Linked DNA regions of Homo sapiens: all the other regions are linked to region 5. The links are contacts of gene promoters, found by promoter capture Hi-C in human tissues and cell types (Jung and others, 2019). All regions are on one chromosome and are shown on one strand. Each heading gives the region's core, a stretch centred on a gene start or on the middle of the fragment in contact. The rest is flanking DNA. Distances are from core to core; before and after follow the strand shown. Region 1 overlaps MIGA2 (mitoguardin 2). Region 2 holds the start of SLC27A4 (solute carrier family 27 member 4). Region 3 holds the start of CERCAM (cerebral endothelial cell adhesion molecule). Region 4 has its middle 17 kb from the start of ODF2. Region 5 holds the start of TBC1D13 (TBC1 domain family member 13). Region 6 overlaps TRUB2 (TruB pseudouridine synthase family member 2). Region 7 holds the start of DOLPP1 (dolichyldiphosphatase 1).

What was found. The method cuts DNA at HindIII sites, captures the fragments that hold promoters and counts their contacts. A contact is called where the count stands out against the background at its distance.
Region 1: a contact is called between a fragment that was not itself captured here and the fragment with the promoter of TBC1D13 in region 5, in 1 of the 25 tissues and cell types used here (spleen).
Region 2: the fragment with the promoter of SLC27A4 here is called in contact with the fragment with the promoter of TBC1D13 in region 5 in 1 of the 25 tissues and cell types used here (dorsolateral prefrontal cortex).
Region 3: the fragment with the promoter of CERCAM here is called in contact with the fragment with the promoter of TBC1D13 in region 5 in 3 of the 25 tissues and cell types used here (IMR-90 fibroblasts, dorsolateral prefrontal cortex and lymphoblastoid cells).
Region 4: a fragment that was not itself captured here is called in contact with the fragment with the promoter of TBC1D13 in region 5 in 1 of the 25 tissues and cell types used here (spleen).
Region 6: a fragment that was not itself captured here is called in contact with the fragment with the promoter of TBC1D13 in region 5 in 1 of the 25 tissues and cell types used here (hippocampus).
Region 7: a contact is called between the fragment with the promoter of DOLPP1 here and the fragment with the promoter of TBC1D13 in region 5, in 9 of the 25 tissues and cell types used here (H1 embryonic stem cells, IMR-90 fibroblasts, dorsolateral prefrontal cortex and 6 more).

Annotation. Positions count from the first base shown.
Region 1 is chr9:129,045,227-129,048,334 of GRCh38, forward strand. All of the region lies in intron 3 of MIGA2 (mitoguardin 2), which reads left to right. Among named protein-coding and RNA genes, the nearest start is that of MIGA2, 10 kb to the left of the region's middle. The HindIII fragment of the contact is 4,265 bases long and covers 1-3,108 here.
Region 2 is chr9:128,338,692-128,341,848 of GRCh38, forward strand. SLC27A4 (solute carrier family 27 member 4) reads left to right here and starts at 1,836. Exons shown (of 13, transcript NM_005094.4): 1 at 1,836-2,147. It overlaps TRR-TCT3-1 (tRNA-Arg (anticodon TCT) 3-1), which reads right to left and starts at 1,475; the gene lies at 1,385-1,475. RefSeq lists silencers at 1,213-1,854, 1,483-1,892, 1,963-2,362 and an enhancer at 2,999-3,157. The HindIII fragment of the contact is 12,819 bases long and covers 1-3,157 here.
Region 3 is chr9:128,419,553-128,422,710 of GRCh38, forward strand. CERCAM (cerebral endothelial cell adhesion molecule) reads left to right here and starts at 1,305. Exons shown (of 13, transcript NM_016174.5): 1 at 1,305-1,522. The coding sequence starts at 1,326. RefSeq lists a silencer at 691-1,590 and an enhancer at 1,851-2,040. The HindIII fragment of the contact is 34,497 bases long and covers 1-3,158 here.
Region 4 is chr9:128,437,378-128,440,717 of GRCh38, forward strand. No RefSeq gene overlaps it. Among named protein-coding and RNA genes, the nearest start is that of ODF2, 17 kb to the right of the region's middle. RefSeq lists a silencer at 1,241-1,414. The HindIII fragment of the contact is 5,750 bases long and covers 1-3,340 here.
Region 5 is chr9:128,785,573-128,788,679 of GRCh38, forward strand. TBC1D13 (TBC1 domain family member 13) reads left to right here and starts at 1,681. Exons shown (of 12, transcript NM_018201.5): 1 at 1,681-1,804; 2 at 2,762-2,835. The coding sequence starts at 1,782. RefSeq lists a silencer at 1,329-1,818. The HindIII fragment of the contact is 9,895 bases long and covers 1-3,107 here.
Region 6 is chr9:128,316,342-128,319,627 of GRCh38, forward strand. TRUB2 (TruB pseudouridine synthase family member 2) reads right to left here. Exons shown (of 8, transcript NM_015679.3): 3 at 811-885. It overlaps LOC105376286 (a long non-coding RNA gene), which reads left to right. Exons shown (of 3, transcript XR_930377.3): 3 at 1-558. Among named protein-coding and RNA genes, the nearest start is that of TRUB2, 4.5 kb to the right of the region's middle. The HindIII fragment of the contact is 1,882 bases long and covers 326-2,207 here.
Region 7 is chr9:129,079,622-129,082,858 of GRCh38, forward strand. It overlaps DOLPP1 (dolichyldiphosphatase 1), which reads left to right and starts at 1,490. Exons shown (of 8, transcript NM_020438.5): 1 at 1,490-1,586. The coding sequence starts at 1,511. RefSeq lists a silencer at 1,188-1,917. The HindIII fragment of the contact is 10,069 bases long and covers 1-3,237 here.

The DNA.
Region 1 (3,108 bases), core at 138-2,637, 260 kb after region 5:
AGGACAGCAGTTCCAGACCAGCCTGGCCAACATGGTGAAACCCCCTCTCTACTAAAAATACAAAAATTAGCCAAGCATGGGGGTGCATGCCTGTAATCCCAGCTATTTAGGAGGCTGAAGCAGAAGGATCGCTTGAACCCGGGAGGCAGAGGTTGCAGTGAGCCGAGATCACACCACTGCACTCCAGCCTGGGCTATGGAGTAAGACTCTGTCTCAAAAAAAAAAAAAAAAAAAAAAAAAAGCAAAAGTAGACCGGGTGTGGTGGCTCACACCTGTAATCCCAGCACTTTGGGAAGCCAAGTCGGGAGAATTATTGAGTCCAGGAGTTTGAGACCAGCCTGAGCAGCATAGAGAGACCCTGTCTCTATAAATAATTTTTTTTTAAAAAGAGAAAGAACATAAATTAGCTGAGTGTGGTGGCTCATACCTGTAATCCCAGCAATTTGGGAGGCAGGAGGATTGTTTGAGGCCAGGAATTCAAGACCAGCCTGGGCAACATAGAGAGTCGCTGTCTCTGTTAAAAAAATAAGAAGCAAAAGTCTCCTGTGAAAATAAATTTTAATTGTGTATTATTGTTGCAAAAGGAAAGTATTATCTTTAGAATTGGAAAAATAAGTGTTTTGTTTTTTTTTTTTTGGTTTTTTTTTAGACGGAGTCTTGCTCTGTCGCCAGGCTGGAGTGCAGTGGTGCCATCTTGGCTCACTGCAACCTCCGCCTCCCGGGTTCAAGCAATTCTCCTGCCTCAGCCTCCTGAGTAGCTGGGACTACAGGTGCGTGCCACCACGCCCAGCTAATTTTTTGTGTTTTTAGTAGAGACAGGGTTTCACCATATTGGCCAGGATGGTCTCCATCTCTTGACCTCCTGATTTGCCCGCCTCAGCCTCCCAAATTGCTGGGATTACAGGTGTGAGCCACTGCGCCCGGCCTAGAATTGGAACAAGAAGTCTTGAGACTAATATGGAAGAGGACCCTGAGAGACACTCAGGCAGCCTAATTTTGTGTCTGTCCTGGGAAACCTGGAGTCATCTGCACAGCGTTTAGCTTCTGTGCCCTGTCCCACTCTGCCTGCTCTCATTTCACCTTATTTTCCCTTCCCTACTTTTCTCACTTCTAACAAAATATTGGCCATGTATAGTGGCTTGTACCTGTAATCCCAGTACTTTGGGGCAGGTGGATCACTTGAGCCCAGGAGTTTGAGACCAGCCTGGGTGGTATGTGGAGGCCCTGTCTCTGTTTTTTTTTTTTTTTGGAGACAGAGTCTTGCCCTGTCGCCTAGGGCAGAGGGCAGTGGCACAATCTTGGCTCACTGCAACCTCCGCCTTCCAGATTCAAGCAGTTCTCATGCTTCAGCCTCCCGAGTAGCTGGGAGTGCTACCATGCCTGGCTAATTTTATGTTTTTACTAGAGACAGGGTTTCACCATTTTGACCAGGCTGGTCTCAAACTCCTGACATCAGGTGATCTGCCCACTTCGTTCTCCCAAAAGTTGGGATTACAGGTGCGTGCCACCACACCCGGCTTTCTTTGTTTTATTTTATTATTATTTTTTAATTTTTATTTACTTTTTTTTTTTGAGACAGTCTCACTCTGTTGCCCAGGTTGGAATGCAGTGGCACAATTTCAGCTCATTGCAACGTCCACCTCCCAGGATCAAGCGATTCTCCTGCCTCATCCTACCAAGTAGCTGGGATTACAGGCGTGTGCCACCACACCTGGCTAATTTTTGTATTTTTAGTAGTGACGGGGTTTCTCCATGTTGGCCAGGCTGGTCTTGAACCCCTGACCTCAGGTGATCCACCCACCTCGGCCTCCCAAAGTACTAGGATTACAGGCATGAGCCACTGTGCCCAGGCTATTTTGTTTTGTATTTTTGAGACAGAGTCTCACCCTGTCGCCCAGGCTGGAGTGGAATGGCGCAATCTTGGCTCACTGCAACCTCTGCCTCCCGGGTTCAAGGATTCTCCTCCTCAGCCTACCAAGTAGCTGGGATTACAAACAGGTGCCACCATACCTGGCTAATTTTTTGTGTTTTTAGTAGAGACAGGCTTTCACCACGTGGGCCAGGCTTCTCTCGAACTCCTAATCTCATGTGATCTGCTGACCTCAGCCTCCCAAAGTGCTGGGATTACAGGTGTGAGCCACTGTGCCCGGCCCTGTCTCTATTTTAAAAAATAACCTTTGGTGCATTTCATTAAATTTTTTTTTTTGAGACATTCTTGCTCTGTTGCCCAGGCTGGAGTGCAGTGGCACAGTCTTGGCTCACTGCAACCTCCGTGTCCCAGGTTCAAGCGATTCTCCTGCCTCAGCCTCCTGAGTAGCTGGGATTACAGGCGTGCGCCACCCCATCTGGCTAATTTGTGTATTTTTATTATAGATGGGGTTTTACCTTGTTGGCCAGGCTGATCTCGAACTCCTGACCTCAAGTGATCCACCCACCTCGGCCTCCCAAAGTGCTAGGATTACAGACATGATCCACCCAGCCCATCCTAAAAAAATTTATATATATATATGTATATATATTTGAGACAGGGTCTCACTCTGCTTCCCAGTCTGGAATGAAGTATTGCGATCATGGCTTACTGCAGCCTTGACCTCCCAGGCTCAATTGATCCCCCACCCTCAGCCTCCCAAGTAGCTGGGGCTGCAGGCCACGCCACCACACTTGGCTAATTTTTGTATTTTTTGTTGAGACAGGGTTTCGCCATGTTGCCCAGGCTGGTCTTGAACTCCTGGGCTCAAGCAGTCCTCCCCCATCTCGGCCTCCCAAAGTGCTGGGATTATAGGTGTGAGCCACCGTGCCCGGCCTTTTGTATATTTTTAAAAGTTGTCGTCTCACATCTCTTTTGCAAGGAGAATTCTAAACCATTCTCTCAATCAGCAGCCCAGAGAAGGCTAAGCAAGGAGGCGGGAAAGCAGATGGACCTCATTCTTGGCTTATCTGGCAGATCGGGACTCCTCTCCTCGGCCTGGCCCTGTGCCCTGTGGCAGGGATATGGCAGGGATGTGGTCATGAGCAGGACATGGAGGGCCCCGCGCTTTTCTCCTGAGTGCACGCCCTTGGGGCCCCTCTGTTCCCCTGACTTAGAAGGTCGGGACCGATTCCCAGATG
Region 2 (3,157 bases), core at 586-3,085, 450 kb before region 5:
CAAAATGAATCTTGACCTTTCAGCTGAGAAGGCGAACTCAATGCTCATGCCCATACCACTGCACATTCTGCCTCCTGATGGTGATACCCATGAAGGATGTGGTGCTGGAATTTACTCAAGTCCCCAAAAGGAGGCACCCTATATTCCAGAAGAAATAGGTCCAAATCCTTATCAGACCAAAATTTCATCTTTATTTTTATTATTATTAGTTTTCTGAGACAGGCTCTCACTGCTCTGTTGCTCAGGCTGGAGTGCAGTGGCCCAATCTCGGCTCACTGCAACCTTTGCCTCCCGGGTTCAGTGATTCTCTTGCCTCAGCTCCTGAGTAGCTAGGATTACAGACGTGCACCACCACGCTCGGCTAAGTTTTGTATTTTTAATAGAGACAGGGTTTCGCCCTGTTGGCCAGACTGGTCTCGAACTCCTGACGTCATGTGATCTGCCCACCTCAACCTCCCAAAGTGCTGGGATTACAGGCATGAGCCACTGTGCCCAGCTTATTTTTATTTTTTGAGACACGGTCTTACTTTGTTGCCCAGGGTGGAGTTTAGTGGTGCAATCACAGCTCACTGCAGCCCCAAGTTCCAGAGCTCAAGCAATCCTCCCACCTCATCTTCCTGAGTAGCTGGGAGTACAAGCAAGAGCTACCTGGCTAATTTTTTTTTTTTTCCTGTAGAGGCAGAGTCTCACTATGTTGCCCAGGCTGGTCTTGAACTCCTGGCTGAAGTGATCCTCCTGCCTCAGCCTCCAAAAGTGCTGGGATTACAAGCTTGAGCCACCACGCCAGTCCCAGAATCTTTTTTTTTTTTTTTTTTTTTTTTTTTTTTGAGATGGAGACTTGCTCTGTCGCCCAGGCTGGAGTGCAGTGGCGCAACCTCGGCTTACTGCGACTTCCGCCTCCCAGGTTCAAGCAATTCTCCTGCCTCAGCCTCCCAGGGATCTATTAATGTTTAAGGACAAGTGGCAACTGTGGATGCCCAACATGGTTACTTAACAAGAAACCAATTTTTCAGAGGCCAAGAGTCCCAACAGGGCCGAGAATCTGGCCACTCGCCTATGGCTCTGGAGGTGGCATGACAAATAAGGGTGGCATGACAAATATAGGTTAACTGATTTGTTGCAGGGACCAGAGATCATAGATGGTGAAGTTAACTAAGGGCCTCCAAATCCGTGTCCTTTGTGCCAACAGGTGTGCCAGGCTGCTCACAAGACACCATGGTACGAGAAAGGATTTCTCGTAGTCACCTAGACACCAGGTTTATGGCTGTGTCGCAGCAAAGTTGGGTGTGACTTATGATTTTCGTTCTGAACCTTATTTGTTAGATAGGTCCTGGAGTCCTTAAAACACGCAGGTGAAAGTCAGGGAGTAGGAGCCATCAAAATTCGACTCTGGTGGGACTCGAACCCACAACCTTTGAATGACCACACTAGGCTCAGCTAGAAGTCCAATGCGCTATCCATTGCGCCACAGAGCCGGCTGCGGAACCCGGCCGCCCCGCTCACCTCTGCCTGAAACCGCCCTCTTAGCGAGCTTCTAGGTGTGGTGCTGGGTGTTTGCTGAACTCGGCCGGGGCCCGAGAGCGTGCTCCGGGTTTTCGGCTGTGGTGTGGACTGGGGTGCTCTTCCTACATCCGGGCGCTGGGGACAGCAGGGGGCAAGGGCCGGGGTCGGCAGGGAGGAAGGGCCGGGGTGAAGCCCGCCTGTCTCCTCGCGGACTCGGGGGTCTCCTCGGCTGGGTGGGGCCGCGCGGCGTGGACTACAACTCCCAGCGTGCCGCGCGGCGGCGCCGCCCGAAGCCGTTGCGCGAGCAGGGCGGGCTGGGGCCGAGCGGCGTCAGGCGCGCTGGGGCTGCGCTGCGCCGCCGGCTCTGTGGCTTGCCGGCTTCGGGGAAGGTGCGGCAGGCGGTGCTGCGGCCTGGCACAGCAGGTTTGGGGTGCGGGAGGCGGGCGGGGTAGGAGCGCGGCGGGCGGGGCCGGGCGGCGGGCGGGGCTGGCGGGGCGGCCGGGCCATGCAGGGCGCAGAGCCGGCTAAACCCTGCTGAGACCCGGCTCCGTGCGTCCAGGGGCGGCTAATGCCCCTCACGCTGTCTACGCTGCTGCAACCGGGCCGCATCTGGACGGGGCGCCGCGCGGCGGAGCCGACGCCGGGTGAGCATAGACCGGGCTGGTGGGTTCCCGGGTGGGGACATGTGCCAGGCCGAGTCGGGCGAGGTGGCGGTGCGGACCCCAGGTGGGGGGCGCGCCCTGCGGCGCTATTTCCCCGACAGACGCACTGTTACCTTGCTGTCTAGGGGCGAGGGCGGCACGCGTGACCCGGGACAGGGGCCCGAGGGAACTAGTCACCCTCTTCTGGCCTCTTCTTGCCCCAGCCTTCCAGGACAGGTTCCTGCCCCTCTGCTATGGCGGGCTATGGGAGGCCAGAGATCTGAGGACCCTGGACCCTGGCGTTGGGGTTGAGGACTCTGGTTCAGTTCCCCCGCCCCCGGCTTTTGCTTTTCGCGAGGGGGAGGGGGAGATGGTCTCCCAGGGCTTCTTGTGGTCCAGACCATTCCCTTTTCCTGGCTTGGAGGCTCTCAGGCCATTTCACATTTGTGACCTTCATCTACTCCCAAGAACAGGAAAACTCGGAGAAAAACAGTCCCATCAGATGTCCCCTTGATCGAGTCCTCAAAGCTCCAGGAATAGAACCCAAGAGTCCTAGCTCAACCCAGCCCCTGAAGCACAGTCAAGTCATTCGCCTTCCCCTAAGCCCTAGACCCCAAAGATTCATCCGAGTGGCTGTGTGTGTCTGTGTGATGGGTGGTGGTGTCTTCAAGGTCCTCCTCGCCTCCCTCAATCAGCTTTGCCCCCTGGGCGGTCACCTTTCAAGCACTTCCAGGCTCTAACTCGTTTTCTGGGTCGCCCTCTATAGACCAACAGACGCACTGCGATACCTGAGTCTATGGGCAGGGACCAAGCAGGGCTCCTTTTCCAGGGAGCTGCCCCTTTGACTTGGCCTGGTCATCCACAGAACCTCCCTGGGTTCTGGGTGGGGAGTCGAGCCAGAGACTTTTTTTTTCTTTTTTTGAGACGGAGTCTCGCTCTGTCTCCCAGGCTGGAGTGCAGTGGCACAATCTCGGCTCAATGGAACCTCCGCCTCCCGGGTTCAAGCAATTCTT
Region 3 (3,158 bases), core at 55-2,554, 370 kb before region 5:
ACCCTCCCAGATGGGTGGCGTTATCAGCCCGATTTTACCCGAGAGGCTCCTGAGGGAAAGGGACCTGTCTGAGGTTGGTGACAGACACCCAGTTCGATCCCATCTGTGGTGCCGCCAGGCCGCTCCCTTTTCTGCTCCTCTCCCGAGAGGCTGCAGAGTTCTTTCCCTCCCAGCAGGGTCCTAAGGACCCCGGCGGTGCTCCAGGGGAGCCAACATCCCCTGCTTTGGAGGACGGACGGGTCGGGTCGCAGTGAGCAGCTCCGTGGTGTCCCCTAGTTCTACACTCAGACCAAGAGAGGGCTGTGAGGGCTGTGCTCTTTTTTTTTTTTTCTTTTTGAGACGGAGTCTCGGTCTGTCATCCAGGCTGTAGTGCAGTGGCGCGATCTCGGCTCACTGCAACCTCCGCCTCCCGGGTTCAAGCGATTCTCCTGCCTCAGCCTCCCAAGTAGCTGGGAGTACAGGCACCCGCCACGACGCCCGGCTAATTTTTGTATTTTTAGTACAGATGGGATTTCACCATCTTGGCCAGGCTGGTCTTGAACTGATCTCAGGTGATCCTCCCGCCTCGGTCTCCCAAAGTGCCGGGATTACAGGCGTGAGCTACCACGCCCGGCCTGGCTGTGCTCTCTTAAAGGGCCGAAGCAATGCGGGTGCTGGCGACCGACGCAAGGAGGTGACGCACAGGGGACTTAAGGAGCGGACCGCCGCGGGAGGACGCGCCCAGCTCAGGGGGACTCCCTCTGCGCCCCCCACGCTGGGTCTCCGGCCCACGCGTGGCCCGGCTGGTCTGCGGAGCTAGCGCCAGGGCCGCCAGAGGGCGCCCGGGGCGGAGGATGGGGCGGGAGCCGGGGAAGCCCGGGAGGTGGTGGCCGAGTGGGCGCCGCCCCTCTGGGTCTGCGGCTCAGGTCGAAGAGTCGGCTGCGTGGGCCGGGGAATCCGGATTCCGGGGGTTCAACGCCCAGGGGTTCCATGAGCCCCTACTGTTCTCGGACGCCCGGCCGGCCCCGACGCACTCGTCCTAGCACCCCTCCCCTGTCCGGTCCTCCGGCCCCTCCGCCGTCGCCCCTCCGGGGTCCAGCCGGGCGGGGCTGCTCCAGGGTCGCGGCTGGCGCGGGTCCCCGGGCCCTGGCCCTCCGGTGCCCCGGGCCAAGGAGAGAAAACTTGAGCATCCACGCACAGGGGTGGGGAGCAGGATCCCACTCTGAGGGTGCACTGCCCCGCCCTCTCCGGGTCTGCCTCGGCCCCGCCCGGGCCCCAGGCCCCGCCCCCTCCCCTCGGCCGGCCCGAGAGCTCCGGGGGCCGCTGCAGCCGCCCAAGCGCCCGCCATGCGCGCTGCCCGCGCCGCGCCGCTGCTCCAGCTGCTGCTCCTGCTGGGGCCGTGGCTGGAGGCTGCGGGCGTTGCGGAGTCGCCGCTGCCCGCCGTGGTCCTTGCCATCCTGGCCCGCAATGCCGAACACTCGCTGCCCCACTACCTGGGCGCTCTGGAGCGGCTGGACTACCCCCGGGCCAGGATGGCCCTCTGGTGAGAGACCCGGGCATTGGCACCGAGTGGGCACCTAACCCCCAGCTTCGCAGATGGCCCCCGCCCCCGGCGGCCCTGTCTGCTCGCTCCCTGCCCAGACACCACCTAGACAGGCCCCTCCCCTCACAGACGGCCCTGCCAGCCCGAGCCGCCAGAGAGGACCCCGAGCCCCCTGCTGGGAGACGACAGACCTCTGAGGCCACAGGCCGACGCGGGACACCCACCCCTCCTTCTGGTCCCCTACTCCTTCCTCTTGGGGCCTTCCCTGGGTGTAGGTTGGGCCCAGCCAGCCCTTTTCACCCCAGCCTTCAGGGCCCAGCTCAACCCCAGTGGGACCTGTGGTTGGCTGGATTTGAAGAGGAGCAGACAGGAACCTCTGAAGTCCACTGGGGCCCAACGTGGCAGGGATCGACCACGCTGGAGGCTTCCGGGCACAGGTTGGGGGTGCCATCAGCACTGGGCTCCGGGCTGTGCAGGGGAGTCAGACCGGCCCCCCCACCGCCCCCGTGCTGGGGCCAGCTCTCTTGGTAGATCTTGGTAGAGGGGCGGGATCCTGTCAGCCAAGGGCAGTCCCCCTTCCTGGAGCCTCTCCCCTCTGGCATCTCTGTACCCCCAGGGCACTGGGATCGAAGGCCACAACCCCTGGTCTGTAGACACCAGAACAGGGAGGAGTCCCTGGCTGAGGTTGGGGGTAAACTGAGAAAAATGACAAGCCACCCTCTTCAACACACCACAGTTGGGCTGGGGGGGTGGAGCCCTGGCCTGGGGAGGCCGCCCACAATTACCACAGTTTGGGAGTTTGTTAGTTCCCACCCCTGTAAGACTTGACACGTAGTCTTCATTTCTGGGGAATTGGCTTAAAGGGGCAGCATCACCCAAAACCTGGGCACTTGGCTAAACCCCCACCTCTGTTATGGGGGCCCCTTCCCCAGGAGAGGGGAGGCTGTGCCCCATGACAGCAGAGCTTGGACCCATCTGCATTCTTAGGGACGCTTAGAGCATGGTTTGGTCCTTATTACAACCTGGGGGTGGAGGAAAGCAGCAGCTCTTCTGTCTAGTCCCCATTCAGAGAGGGACAGGGGCTGGCCTGTGGTCACACAGCCACAGGTCACATAGGTAGGTATCTGCCCACCTAACGAAGGTAACCAGGGAATGCACCAGGTGTGATCCTTAAAGTCGAGGTACTTTTCATCTTTCAAAATGCATTCGTTGGCCAGGTGTGGTGGCTCACGCCTGTAATTTCAGCACTTTGGGAGGCCGAAGTGGGCAGATCACCTGAGGTGAGGAGTTCAAGACCAGCCTGGCTAACATGGTGAAACCCCATCTCTACTAAACAAACAAAAATTAGCCGGGCATGGTGGTGCACACCTGTAATCCCAGGTACTCAGGAGGCTGAGGCAGGAGAATCACTTGAACCCGGGAGGCGGAGGTTGCAGTGAGTCGAGATCATACCACTGCACTACAGCCTGGGCGACAGAGCAAGATTCCATCTCAAAAAAAATGCATTATTCTTCTCTTATCTTTGTCCATGACATAAGCAGGACAGCTTAAGTTATAGAGGGAGGACGTGAAGCCCAGAGAAAGATGGGACTTGCCTGAGGTCACACAGCAGGTCACAGAACTGTGGTGGGGACCT
Region 4 (3,340 bases), core at 675-3,174, 350 kb before region 5:
TATATATATATATATATGTATGTATGTGTATGTGTATATATATATATATATATATATATATATATGTATGTATGTATGTATGTATATATATATTTTTTGACACAGGGTCTCCCTCTGTTGCCCAGGCTGAAGTGCAATGGCGCAAACCCAGCTCACTGCAGCCTCAACCTCCTGGGCTCAGGCAATCTTCCTGCTTCAGCCTCCCATGTAGCTGGACCACAGGCACATGCCACCATGCCTGGCCACATTTTTTTTTGTAGAGACTGGGTTTTGCATGTTGCCCAGGCTGGTCTCAAACTCCTGGGCTCAAACAATCTATCCACCTCGGCCTCCCACAGTGCTGGGATGAGAGGCGTGAGCCACTGCACCCTGCCACTTTATATATATACATATATATACACGTATATACGTATATATACACGTATATATACATATATACGTGTATATACACGTATATACACATACACGTATATACACGTATATACACATACACGTATATACACGTATATACACATACACGTATATACACGTATATACACATACACGTATATACACGTATATACACACACGTATATACACGTATATACACACACGTATATACACGTATATACACACACGTATATACACGTATATACACACACGTATATACACGTATATACACACACGTATATACACGTATATACACACACGTATATACACGTATATATACGTGTATATATGTACACATACGTGTATATACATGTATATATGTATACATACATATATATACATGTATATATATTTGTTTGTTTTTAAGACAGAGTCTCGCTCTGTCACCCAGGCTGGAGTGCAGTGGTGTGATCTCGGCTCACTGCAGCCTCCGCCTCTTGGGTTGAAGCGATTCTCCTTCCTCAGCCTCCCTAGTAGCTGGGATTACAGGCATGTGCCACCACGCCCAGCTAATTTTTGTATTTTTACTTTATATTTTTTAACTCATGGCTGAGCCTCTGCATCTCAGCTGGCCTGGGAGGAGGCTTCCTGATCTATGGTTGAGCAATTGGAGGGACAGAGAGGGGAGGACAGGTGAGGAGTCAGGCCGATCCAGCATCACCTCTGTGCTGGGTGATCTTGGGTGGGTGCCATCCCTTCCCTGGGCCTTAGTCTACTCTTCGGTCATTGTGGCTGGTTGGGTATAGAGTGGCCTAGCCTGAGCCCGGCTCACAGTGAGTGCTCACCTGTTGGGGCTGATGTGGTCATCCCCGAAGTCATTACCAGCCTCACCTTGCTGGTCAGGGTGGGCCCAGCCAGTCCAAGGGCTGCTGATGTCCCCCGGCCCTTTGGATCATCTCTTGTGCAGCTGAAACCCTGGCTTAGGGGAAGAGGAACCGCCTGGGAGGGGCTGGGGGAGATCCTGGGTTCCCCTCTGGCACTAACCAATGTGGCCACCAGAGGGCGCAAGGTGGCAGAGCCTGGACTTGGCCAGGATGCTCTCTGCTGGGTTGGGGCCAACACCAGGAAGGAAGCATGGGCCATAGGGAAGCTCCCATTGGTGCTGGGGCAACCCGCAGCAGCTCTGCGTCTTCTGCTCTTCTGATGGGAACTGCAGGCCTCTCCCCTGGCCCCAGAGAGTCGGGCTTCTGGGCCCAGCCGCTGTCTGTCATGCCTGCACTCAGGCAGCTGGAGGGGTGGGAGGGGAGATGGCTCCTGGCCTTGGCCATGGCTGCTTTGGCTTCCACCGTTCCTGCTCCTCTTCCATGTGGCCCCCTGACTTGGTTGTGTGAGCACTCCAGTCCTGGCAGAGCCTGACAGGCACTCCCTGAGGTTGGGGTATCCCTTGGCTCTGTCCTGGGGTTGAGGTCCAGGACCTGGCACGGCTGTGAGAAGGACCTTGGGCTGGAGCTGTGGACTCGGTGCTTTATTCGTTCTAAGATGAAAGTCATTCATTCTGGATGGCTATGACCTTGAGCGACTCACTTCTCTCCAGGCTCCAGGTGTCCCCTTCATTCATTTGTTAACCTTTATTAAGCACCTCCCATGGGCCGCAGTCAGGCCCTGGGGATTCAGCAGTGAATGAAACTGACAAAACCCCTGACCTCATTAAACTGACATTCTTTTTTTTCTTTTTTTTTTGTGGCGGAGTCTCACTCTATCACCTTCTGTCACCACACCCGGCCAAAACTGACATCCTAATGAGGGATGCAGACAAAAACAAAGAAAGATCAGAGGGTGTGAATTGCTATAGAGAAAAATGAGAAGCGGAGAGATACAAAGTAAGATCTGAGAAGTTAACACCTGAACAAAGACGCAGGAGTGGGCCAGGCATAGTTGCTCATGCCTGTAATCCTAGCACTTTGGAAGGCCTAAGCAGATGGATCACTGGAGGCCAGGAGTTTGAGACCAGCCTGGCCAACATAGGGAAATCCCATCTCTATTAAAAATACAAAAATTAGTCAGGTGTGCTAGCGGGCGCCTGTAATGCCAGCTACTCGGGAGACTGAAGCAGGAGAATCACTTGAACCTGGGAGGTGGAGGTTGCAGTGAGCTGAGCTTGCACCACTGCACTCCAGCTTGGGCGACAGAGTGAGACTCCATCTCAAAAACAAAAGACTTCGCCAGGCAGGGTGGCTCACACCTGTAATCCCACCATTTTGGGAGGGCGAGGCAGGTGGATCACGAGGTCAGGAGTTCAAGACCAGCCTGGCCAAGAGGGTGAAACCCCGTCTCTACTAAAAATACAAAAATTAGCCAGGTGTGGTGGTGGGCGCCTGTAGTCCCAGCTACGTGGGAGGCTGAGGAAGAGAATTGCTTGAACCTGGGAGGCAGAGGTTGCAGTGAGCCGAGATCAAACCACTGCACTCCAGCCTGGGTGACAGAGTGAGACTCCGTCTCAAAAAAAAAAAAAAAATAGACAAAAAAAAAAAAAAAAAAGACTTTAAGGAGGGGAGGGGCTGAGCCTTGGGGATAGCAAAAGGAAGAGCTTCCAAGCAGAAGGAACAGCATATGCAAAGGTCCTGAGGCAGAAGCAGGACTGACAGTGCAGAAGAGAGGAGGACCAGTGTCTAGAGTTGATAGAGCCAAGGCTGGGGCCAGAGCAGGGATGGCCATGAAGGCCATTTTGGCTTTTACTCTGAGATGGAGCCCCCAGAGAGATGGAGGCAAAGAAGTAACCATCTAACTTACATTTTTACATGATCACCCTGGCAGAGATGTGGCATGATCTCATGTAGTGTTATAAGATCACACCGGCTACTGTGCTGAGAATAAACTGTAGGCAGGTCCATGGAAGAAACAGTGAGACCAGTTAGGAACCCACTGTAATAATTCAAGCATGGCTGGGCGTGGTGGCTTATGCGTATAATCC
Region 5 (3,107 bases), core at 431-2,930:
CAGGAGATACCACTTCACATCTACTAGAATGTCTAAGATTAAAAAGACTGACCACATCAAGTATTGGTGAGGACGTGGTACAACAGCAACTCTCATATACTGCTGGGGTAGGTGTTAAATAATACAACCATTTTGGAAAATATTTAAGCACTTTCTTTTCTTTTTCTTTTTCTTTTTTTTTTTTTGAGATAGAGTGTCGCTCTTTCGCCCAGGCTGGAGTGCAGTCGTGCAATCTCCACTCACTGCAAGCTCTGCCTCCCAGGTTCATGCCATTCTCCTGCCTCAGCCTCCCGAGTAGCTGGGACTACAGGCACCCACCACCACGCCCGGCTAATTTTTTTCTTTGTATTTTTTAGTAGAGATGGGGTTTCACCGTGTTAGACAGGATGGTCTCGATCTCCTGACCTCATGATCCGCCCTCCTTGGCCTCCCAAAGTGCTGGGATTACAGGCGTGAGCCACCGCGCCTGGCTAGCTGTTTCTTTCTTTTTTTTTTTTTCTCAAGAAAAAGGTGTTAAATAATACAACCATTTCGGAAAATCTTTAAGCAGTTTCTTTTCTTTTCTTTTCTTTTTTTTTTTTTTTTGACAGGGTCTTGCGTTTTTGCCCAGGTTGGAGTGCGGTGGCGCTATTGGAGTGCGGTGGCACTATCTCGGCTCACTGCAAGCTCCGCCTCCCGGGTTCAAGCAATTCTCCTGCCTCAGCTTCCTGAGTAGCTGGGATTACAGTTGTGCGTCACCACACCCGGCTAATTTTTGTATTTTTAGTAGAGACGAGGTTTCACCATGTTGGTTAGGCTGTTCTCAAATTCCTGACCTGGTGATCTGCCCGCTTCAGCCTCCCAAAGTGCTGGGATTACAGGCGTGAGCCACCACGCCCGGCCTACTCAACTAATTTTTACATCTTTTGTAAAGAAGGTAATCTCGAGGAGCTGGGATTACAGGCGCCTGCCACCACGCCCGGCTAATTTTTGCATTTTTGGTAGAGACGGGGTTTCACCGTGTTGGCCAGAGTGGTCTCCAACTCCTGACCTCAAGTGGTCTGCCTGCCTCGTCCTCCCAAAGCACTGGAATTTACAGGGATGAGCCACCGCGCCCGGTCCAGCCTATTTTTCTTAAGATATCATTTGTGTTTTTTTCTTTCTTCCTAACTTACATTTTATAGGGTTTGCTGGTATAGTTTTTATAAAAAAAAAAAAAGTTGGGCCGCGCACGGCGGTTCATGCGAGTCCCTGCTATACAGGCCTTGAGGATTCTGCAGAGACCAAGATAAGCTGGGGGGCCTGAACAGTTTAGCAGGGGAGGCCGAGACTCCTGTAACAATCATGCAGTAGTTAATTACAGGGGGGTGAGTGCAGGGAAGACGACAGGGTGACAGGTATATTGCGTAAGTAGACACTGAGGCCCAGGGAAGCGCAAGGAATAGTCCAGAGACACACAGTCTGCGCTGTCACCGGCGGGTTCTCAAATTTGGCCCGCAGGGTCGGCGGCGCTGGGGCTCCCGGCCCGCGATTGCCACGCCCACCAGACCCGAGGTTGCCCCGCTCAACCCGGCCGGCCGTAGCCGCCAGTACCGTGTGGAAGCGTGAGAGTCGAGGGGTGGCACGTGACTGGCGGGGCGGGGCGGGGCTGAGGCGGTGGAACGCGCAGGCTAGTGGCTGTGTTTCCCGCCGGAGGCTTTTGCGCAGAGCCCCGCGTCCCTGGGGGGCGGCGGCGGCGGCGGCAGCGCAGGCGGCAGAGGCGCAGGCGGCGGAGGCGGCTGGGGGGTCCGGAAGTCAACACCATGTCAAGTCTGCACAAGAGCCGGTAAGGGGCCATGGGGCCTGACCCGGCTGGGCCACTCCTGGCCAGGCTGCCCCTTCTGCCCCTCAGAAGGGGGAAGCGCGGGTGTGGCCAGGAATCGGCAGACCCCCTCGGCAGAGGGTCTCGAGCGTCCACCTTCTAACCTCATTGCCTGTGGGCTGCAGGAACGACGGAGGGGCGGCCCTTCTCCTGCCCCTGATGTCACTGCTTCTGCCTCCCTCATCCTGGACCCCTGGTGTCCCCCTTCCCCTGAGTCTTCCTCATCCAGACCCCCATGCCCCGCCCCCGTGCCTTTCCCCCTTTTGATCCCCCTGCTCCCGTACTCTCTCCAAGTGCACCCTGTCCCCCGTGCCTTTTTCTTACTAGGATTGCTAGAGAACTTGCATTCTCCAGTCTGGCCCCTCCCCCAGGCCAGATCCTGCAGCATTGGCTGAATTTTGCTCACTCTTCAGTTTTCCTTCAGGACGTGTTTTTTAAACCCTTTGTCCTTGCCTTCTGGCAGGCCCAGAGGTCTTGTAATGGTTATATTTGTGAGCATGGTCCATTGTCTGCATATCAAATTACTCCTGGTTCCTGAGGTCCAAGGAGTTCAGTTGGTGGCTGTGCGTGGACCCGGCCTGGCCGGCAGGAAGTGCCCAGTAAATGTCAGCTCACTAAGTATTAGAATGTTGGAATATGTCTAATTTTATGGTCCTCATTTGGGAACTTCTAGACAAGAATATCTCTCAAGTTTCTTCCCTGGCATTCTGTGTTTCTGGTTGTAGAGGAAGAAGTGAAATATAGTTTTGTTGTTCTCCAAAGCTGTCTTTGGTGAGGACCTTGACTAAGCTGTGTGATTTTTATGTCCTAAAGGGGAGAGAGGCACAGGTTGGAAACTGGCAGTGTGAGGGAGCTGAGGGCTGTGGGTCTCACTGAGCCGATATCAGCATGCTTCATTTGCCGCCCTATCTCCCCTTCCAGAATTGCAGATTTCCAGGATGTCCTGAAGGAGCCCTCAATTGCATTGGAAAAGCTGCGGGAACTCAGCTTTAGTGGTAAGAAGCCATTCTGTATTTTCACGGTTTCCCTACAGCAGCCCTGTGGCTAGAATACAGGGGGAGGCCACACCTGGTCAGCTCTGGGGCCCAGCTGCTGGGGGCTGGGGCCTTGGAAGGAAATTACACACAGACTCTTGGGGCCTTTTCCAGATTCTGTAGAGCTGAACAGGCAGTGACTGCCTTGAGCTTGGAGGGGTTTCCCAGAGGGGCAGTGGCCACACTTAGCATGCCCTAAGCTTTCCTAAGCTTTCCGCAGGAGGTGCCAGATT
Region 6 (3,286 bases), core at 17-2,516, 470 kb before region 5:
GAGATCATGCCATTGCACTCCAGCCTGGGAGACAGAGCAAGACTCTGTCTCAGGAAAAAAAAAAAATACTGATTCCTGTGGGTGCTGTGCAGTCGGCACAGAGGAAGGGCCCAATAAACGGTGGCCACTGTGGTCACTTCCTGCCTTTCTCCCGGTCTGTTTCTCCCTCTGGCTGAGGGACAGAATAACTCTGCATTCACTCGTGGGGAGACAGAACAGGGAGAGGGGGCATGAGATCATGTCTGCCTGCCTGTGCCTCAGGAAGCAAGACAAGGGGACTGTGACTGTCGCGGCTGGAGGATGTGGGCACCACCTGACCCTGGGGACACAGATGGCTCATGACTAGGGCTTTGTGTGTCCAGACCCAGCCACATGCAGGCCCTGGCCATTAGGTCCAGAGTCACGCGCCTGGCTGCCCCATGATGCAATGATGGTTTTCCTTCTCCGGACCAGGGGTATTCACTGGCCATGGGACCCAGAACAAGTCACCTAAATCCTACTTTCTTCTTCCATAAAATCATATAGTATCTACCTAATAAAGTTGTTGTGGTAAATAAATGTGCATAAAGGGCCTCGAACTATGTCATGTGTGGGAATCACTGAATAAAGGTGGGTGACTGTGGTATTAACCTGTGATTACCTCCGTCCCACCTATCCACTCCCCAGCTGATCAGCCTTGGGGCAGGAATCAGGGCAGGAGAGGAGTGGTGGGACGTGGGTGCCAGGTAAGAAGTGGGCTGGGCTCCTGGTAGCTTCAGGATCTTTTCTCAAGCCTTATCACTGTACCCCCAGGCTTCTCACATCACCTACCAAGTACTCCAGAAGCCTGGGCATCCAACCGATGTCCCACGCCAACCTTGAGATGGGCGAATGCTGGTCCACATACTGGAAAGAAACAAACAAGGTCCATTTTCTCAACTAAATGCCACCCCAGGATGGCTTTGGGCTGCATGTTGACCTCGTTCTCAGAATGGGCCTCATGGAGCCCAAACTAGCATCAGGCCAGACTCTCAGGCTTCCCCGTCATGGAATCTGGGACCCTGAACTGTATCCTCAGTGCCCTGGGATCCAAAGGGCAGCCCAAGATGCCTCTTACTCTGCCTATCATCAGTCTCCCAGTGAGAGGCTCTAAGAAGACTGGCGTAACACTGAAGGTCAAGAGTGCGGGGTTCCCTGCCCAGCTCTACTGAGGAAGAGTCCCTGGAGGAAAATGGAGGCTGTGAGCTCCTTAAGGCAGAACCTGGGTGTGTCAACTCACTAGCTGCTCAGGAAAGAACTACTGAAAGAATAAATGCAGGAATGAGCCAGAAGTGTTTACACTTCTACAGATTAAGAGGAATCTAGGGGAAGAGTCCAGGGTAGTTAAGGGCCTATTGAATCCAGGCCATGTTACTAAATGTCAACACTGAGCCTCAGTTTTCTCCCTTGTGAAATGAAAATAGGACCCATCTCACAGCACTGTGGTGATATCAATGAGGATTGTACTTGGGGGAAGCTTAACACAATGCCTAGTACAGAGTGGCGACTCAATACATTATACTTCTTATTGTTACCATATAATAGAGTCATTGAATATCACAAGTCCAACGGGTTTTTGAGGTTTCTGGTCAAACCTCTAGATTCCCTGACACATGCCTTAATCACATCTAGTGATGGGGACACATTACCAGAACCAGTTCCATTGTTGGGCAACTTTATTCAGTAAAAAAATCACTCTTTCGGCTGGGCGCAGTGGCTCACACCTGTAATCCCAGCACTTTGGGAGGCCAAGGTGGGCGGATCACCTGAGGTCAGGAGTTCGAGACCAGCCTGGCCAACATGGTGAAACCCCATCTCTACTAAAAATACAAAAATTAGCTGGGTGTGGTGGCACACACCTGTAATCCCAGCTACTTGGGAGGCTGAGGCAAGAGAATAGCTTGAACCTGGGAGATGGAGGTTGCAGTGAGCTGAGATCACACCACTGCACTCCAGACTCCAGCCTGGGCAACAGAGCAAGACTCTGTCAAATAAATAAATAAATAAACTTATTCTTTCCCAGAAACCCAAAACCCCTACCTTAGGACTTCTACCTAGGGTCTCATTTCTCACCTGGAGTCCCAGAATAGAAAAAGGGTCAGCAAACTACAGTCCACAAGTCAAACCTGAAGACTGAAGACTGTTTTTTTTTTGTGTGTGTGTGTTTGCTTGTTTTGTTTTGTTTTGTTTTGAGATGGAGTCTCACTTTGTCACCCAGGCTGGAGTGCAGTGGCGCCATCTCAACTCACTGCAACCTCCACCTCCCAGATTCAAGCGATTCTCATGCCTCAGCCTCCTGAGTAGCTAGGATTACAGGCACCTGCCTCCATACCTAGCTAATTTTTTGTATTTTTAGTAGAGACGGAGTTTCATCATGTTGGCCAGGCTGGTCTTGAACTCTTGACCTCAAGTGATCCGCCTGCCTCGGCCTCCCAAAGTGCTGGGATTACATGAATGAGCCACCGCATCTGGCTTGTTTTTTGTGGCCTATGAGTTAAGAATGGTTTTTGCATTTTTCAGTGGTTCAAAATAAATCAAGAGACCAGTTGCAAGGGCTCACGCTTATAATCCCAGCACTTTGAGACGCCGAGGCAGGCAGATCACTTGAGCCCAGGAGTTCAATACTAGCATGGGCAACGTGACAAAACCCCATCTCTACAAAAAATACAAAAATTAGCCAGGCATGGCCGGGCGTGGTGGCTCACACCTGTAATCCCAGCACTTTGGGAGGCCGAGGCGGGTGGATCACGAGGTCAGGAGATCGAGACTATCCTGCCTAACATGGTGAAACCCCGTCTCTACTAAAAATACAAAAAATTAGCTGGGCGTGGTGGCGGGCGCCTGTAGTCCCAGCTACTCGGGAGGCTGAGGCAGGAGAATGGCGTGAACCCAGGAGGAGAAGCTTGCAGTGAGCCGAGATCGTGCCACTGCACTCCAGCCTGGGCAACAGAGCATGACTCCGTCTCAAAAAAAAAAAAAAAATTAGCCAGGCATAGTGGCCTGTGCCTGTAGTCCCAGCTACTCGGGAGGCTTAGGTGAGAAGACTGCTTGAACTCAGGAGGCAGAGGTTTCAGTGAGCCGAGATCTCACCACTGCCCTCCAGCCTGGGTGACAGAGTGAGACCCTGTCTCTAAATAAATAGAATACTACAGTTGTCCCTTGGTATCCAAGGGGATTGGGTCCAGGATCCCTTGCAGATACCAAAATTTGTAGATGTTCAAGTCCCTGATATAAAATGGCATAGTATTTGCATATAACCTAGGCATGT
Region 7 (3,237 bases), core at 240-2,739, 290 kb after region 5:
ACATGGTGGCCAGGGGCGGTGGCTCACACCTGTAATCCCAGCACTTTGGGAGGCCGAGGTGGGCGGATCACGAGGTCAGGAGATCAAGACCATCCTGACCAACACGGTGAAACCCCGTCTCTACGAAAAGTACGAAAATTAGCCGGGCGTGCCACTGCACTCCAGCCTGGGCAACAGAGCGAGACTCCGTCTCAAAAAAAAAAAAAAAAAATTAGCTGGGCATGGCGGCTCACGCTTGTAATCTCAGCATTTTGGGAGCCGAGGCAGGTGGATCACCTGAGGCCAGGAGTTCGAGACCAGCCTGCCCAACATGGTAAGACCCGGTCTCTACTAAAAATGCAAAAATTAGCCGGATGCGGTGGTGCGCGCCTGTAGTCACAGCTACTCGGGAGGCTGAGACAGGAGAATCACTTGGACCCAGGAGGCTGAGCAAGATCGTTCCACTGCACTCCAGCCTGGGCCTCAGAGCAAGACCCTGTCTCAAAAAACAAACAAACAGACAAAAACAGCACATGCTAGCGGCAGGAGACAAGAGGCTGAGCCCTCCCAGCCCACCTTACCTGCACTGTAATCCAATCCAGCCAGAGACAGAGTCGGGTAGGAGAGGTGAAGGCGGGTGGGAAGGTGTGGCTGTTCACGCAGGAATGTCTTGGGAAAACTGAGGGGTAGGTGGAAAACCGACTTCTTGTTTGAAATGCTCCCAAGACGCCTCATTAAGTAGCATAGACGTGACTGAATCAATAAATCTTTATTAAATGAATGAAAGGAGGAAGGAGTCCTTAACTGTAGCTAAGCTTCCACTCTTAAGTATCAATTAAGCTTCTCTGTTCAGTCCAGCGTTTAGGGCGCCTACTGCGCGCCCCGCCCCACACACTTTTGACAAAAAGGTCGCCTGCTCTGTGTGACTTGCCCTTTCGCCGGCCAGTATGGGGCAGAGGGAAATAAGCCCCCTCTGCTCTCTGGTCTCAGTTTACTCGTAACTGAAAGTGGGTCGGTTCAAACCCCCTGGAGCTGAGGTTGCCTCTCCTCTTCGAGCACGCGCTATCGGACGCGCAGGTCCCCAAGACCGCGGATCGGCAGGGGGTACCAGGGAAGCCTTCATTCAGGGCGCAGGTCCCAGCCGAACCAAAGCTCCCACCAAAGTTCAACACGCCCCCAAAGCCAGCGCCTGATTGGCCCGCCCTGCCCACAAGCTGAGGCAGCCTCACCTTCTGATTGGCTGTTATGCTCCCTGTTCGGTGCTGGAACCCTCCCCTTCTCTGATTGGCCAGATGCCTACCTGCGCTCGCCCCAGATTGGGCGCCAGCTGGGGCGGCTCGTTGGCTCCCAGGGGCCCCGCTCTCTGATTCGCCGCTCGGGCCAGCCCCCACGGCCTGCACGCTGAATGGCTGCGCCGCTACCTATATTGGCCTCCGATTGGGTGCACGGCGCCTCCCCGGCGTGATAGGTCAGGACCACCGCCCCCCTGGCTCCCCATTGGCTGCTCGAAGAAGCCCGGTCTCCGGGTAAGATGGCAGCGGACGGACAGTGCTCGCTCCCCGCTTCATGGCGGCCGGTGACCCTCACCCACGTCGAATATCCTGCAGGTAAAAGGCGGTCCCGGCTCCAAGGACGCCTTCCCAGGGACGGCCTCTCAGTCCCGGGCGCTCCGGCCTGCTCGAGCCCGCGGAGGGGGCGCCGGGGGACCGGGGTGGGAACTGTCAAATAGTGAACCACGGAGGGGCTCGGCCGGCGCGCGCGCCGCGCAGGCGCAGTGGTGCGAGGATGAGCTGGGCGAAATTGTGAGGCGCTCGCTCGCGCACTCTGCGGCTGCGCGGCCAGGGCGCTCCCCCGGGTCCCGGGGCGCCGGTGGGCTGAAATGGGTTGAGGATCTGTGTGAGGCGAGAAAAGATCCCTGGCCTGGACCTTGGCCCTTCTTCCCCGCCCTCCCCTGTCCCAGAGAGGCCGCACTCCTGTTCCAGCGTGCAGGGAGTGTCTTGTTTCCTTCGAACAGTGCTTTGGGCTGCTTGTAAGAGAAAGAGCTCCCCGTTGCTGGGAGTGTGCAAGCCGAAGCCAGGCTTTTGAGTACTTGTGGTGCCACGCCCTGAGCAGGGCACGATTCCACAACAGAGAGGACCCGATGAGGGGGCGGGCAGCCTCCGGGAACTTGACTTCTGTTGCTTCCCATCAGACACACCTCTCGAAGTGCAGGGCTTTCCAGTTGAGAGGTCCATTAGCGGCGTTCTGGAGGCTGTCTAGTAAGAGTGGCGCAGAGCCTGGGCGTGGGGGTCAGACCCATCTGGGCTCCAGTTGAGGCTGAGGCCTTGTGCAGGTGCCTGCCTCTGCTTAAGTTAATTCATCTCTAAAGTGGGACTGATTACAGTGCTTACCTTCTGGTGATGGTATGAGCATCAAATAGCAGGAGGCACAAGAAGGGCTGAGTACAGTGCCCGGCATGCAGTAAGCGTTCAGTAAATACCTGCAGTTAATGTTATCCCACCTTGCAAGACCCTCCCTGGGTAAGATGGTTGAGTGCCAGGGAAGGCTGGAGCCCCTCATTGAGCCCTGGTTGCCTGGGAAGGGCCTGCTCATGCTGCTGTCTTGCGAGATGTGAGAACCTGGGTCCGCTGAGGGCACCAGGACTGAATGCCAAAGAACGTTGACGCTGGTGTTCTGGGTTGTACTGGGGGTGGTATGGCCCTGCCAGGTCCTGGGCCCTGCCTGCCTGCCTGTCTACCATTCATTCATCCATTCATTCATTCAGTCAATATCCACTGAACACTTCTGAGTGCTAGGCCCTGGGCTAGCTCTGGTTTTTAGAATGCTTAACAGGCCTGAAATATCCCTGCATTCCTGCACTATGAAAACCAGCTGCTTTATAAGAGGAAAGCCAAAGCCTGGAGGTGGGGAAAGACTTGCTAAGGCCTCTGCACCTTCACAGCTTCCCCTCCTGGCCTCAGAGTAGCTTCTTGGAGTGCTCACAATCCAACAAGCCAGAAGGAACCTGGCAGGCAGTTGTGTGCAGCATGATACAGGCTGTGATGGACCTGGCTGAGCCTGGAGCATCTGGTGAGGTCTAGTCCCCTATTAATGCTTCCATGGTTCCCTGCACTTCTCCGTCACACCCCTCTTCACACCGTCACTTGCTTACTTCATTCATTCAACAGTTTTTGAGCCCAGTTAAGAGCCAGGCCCTGTGCTGGGCTTGGGGGATAGAGTGGGATATAAAGAGACCCTGTCTCTACTCCCAGATGCTGT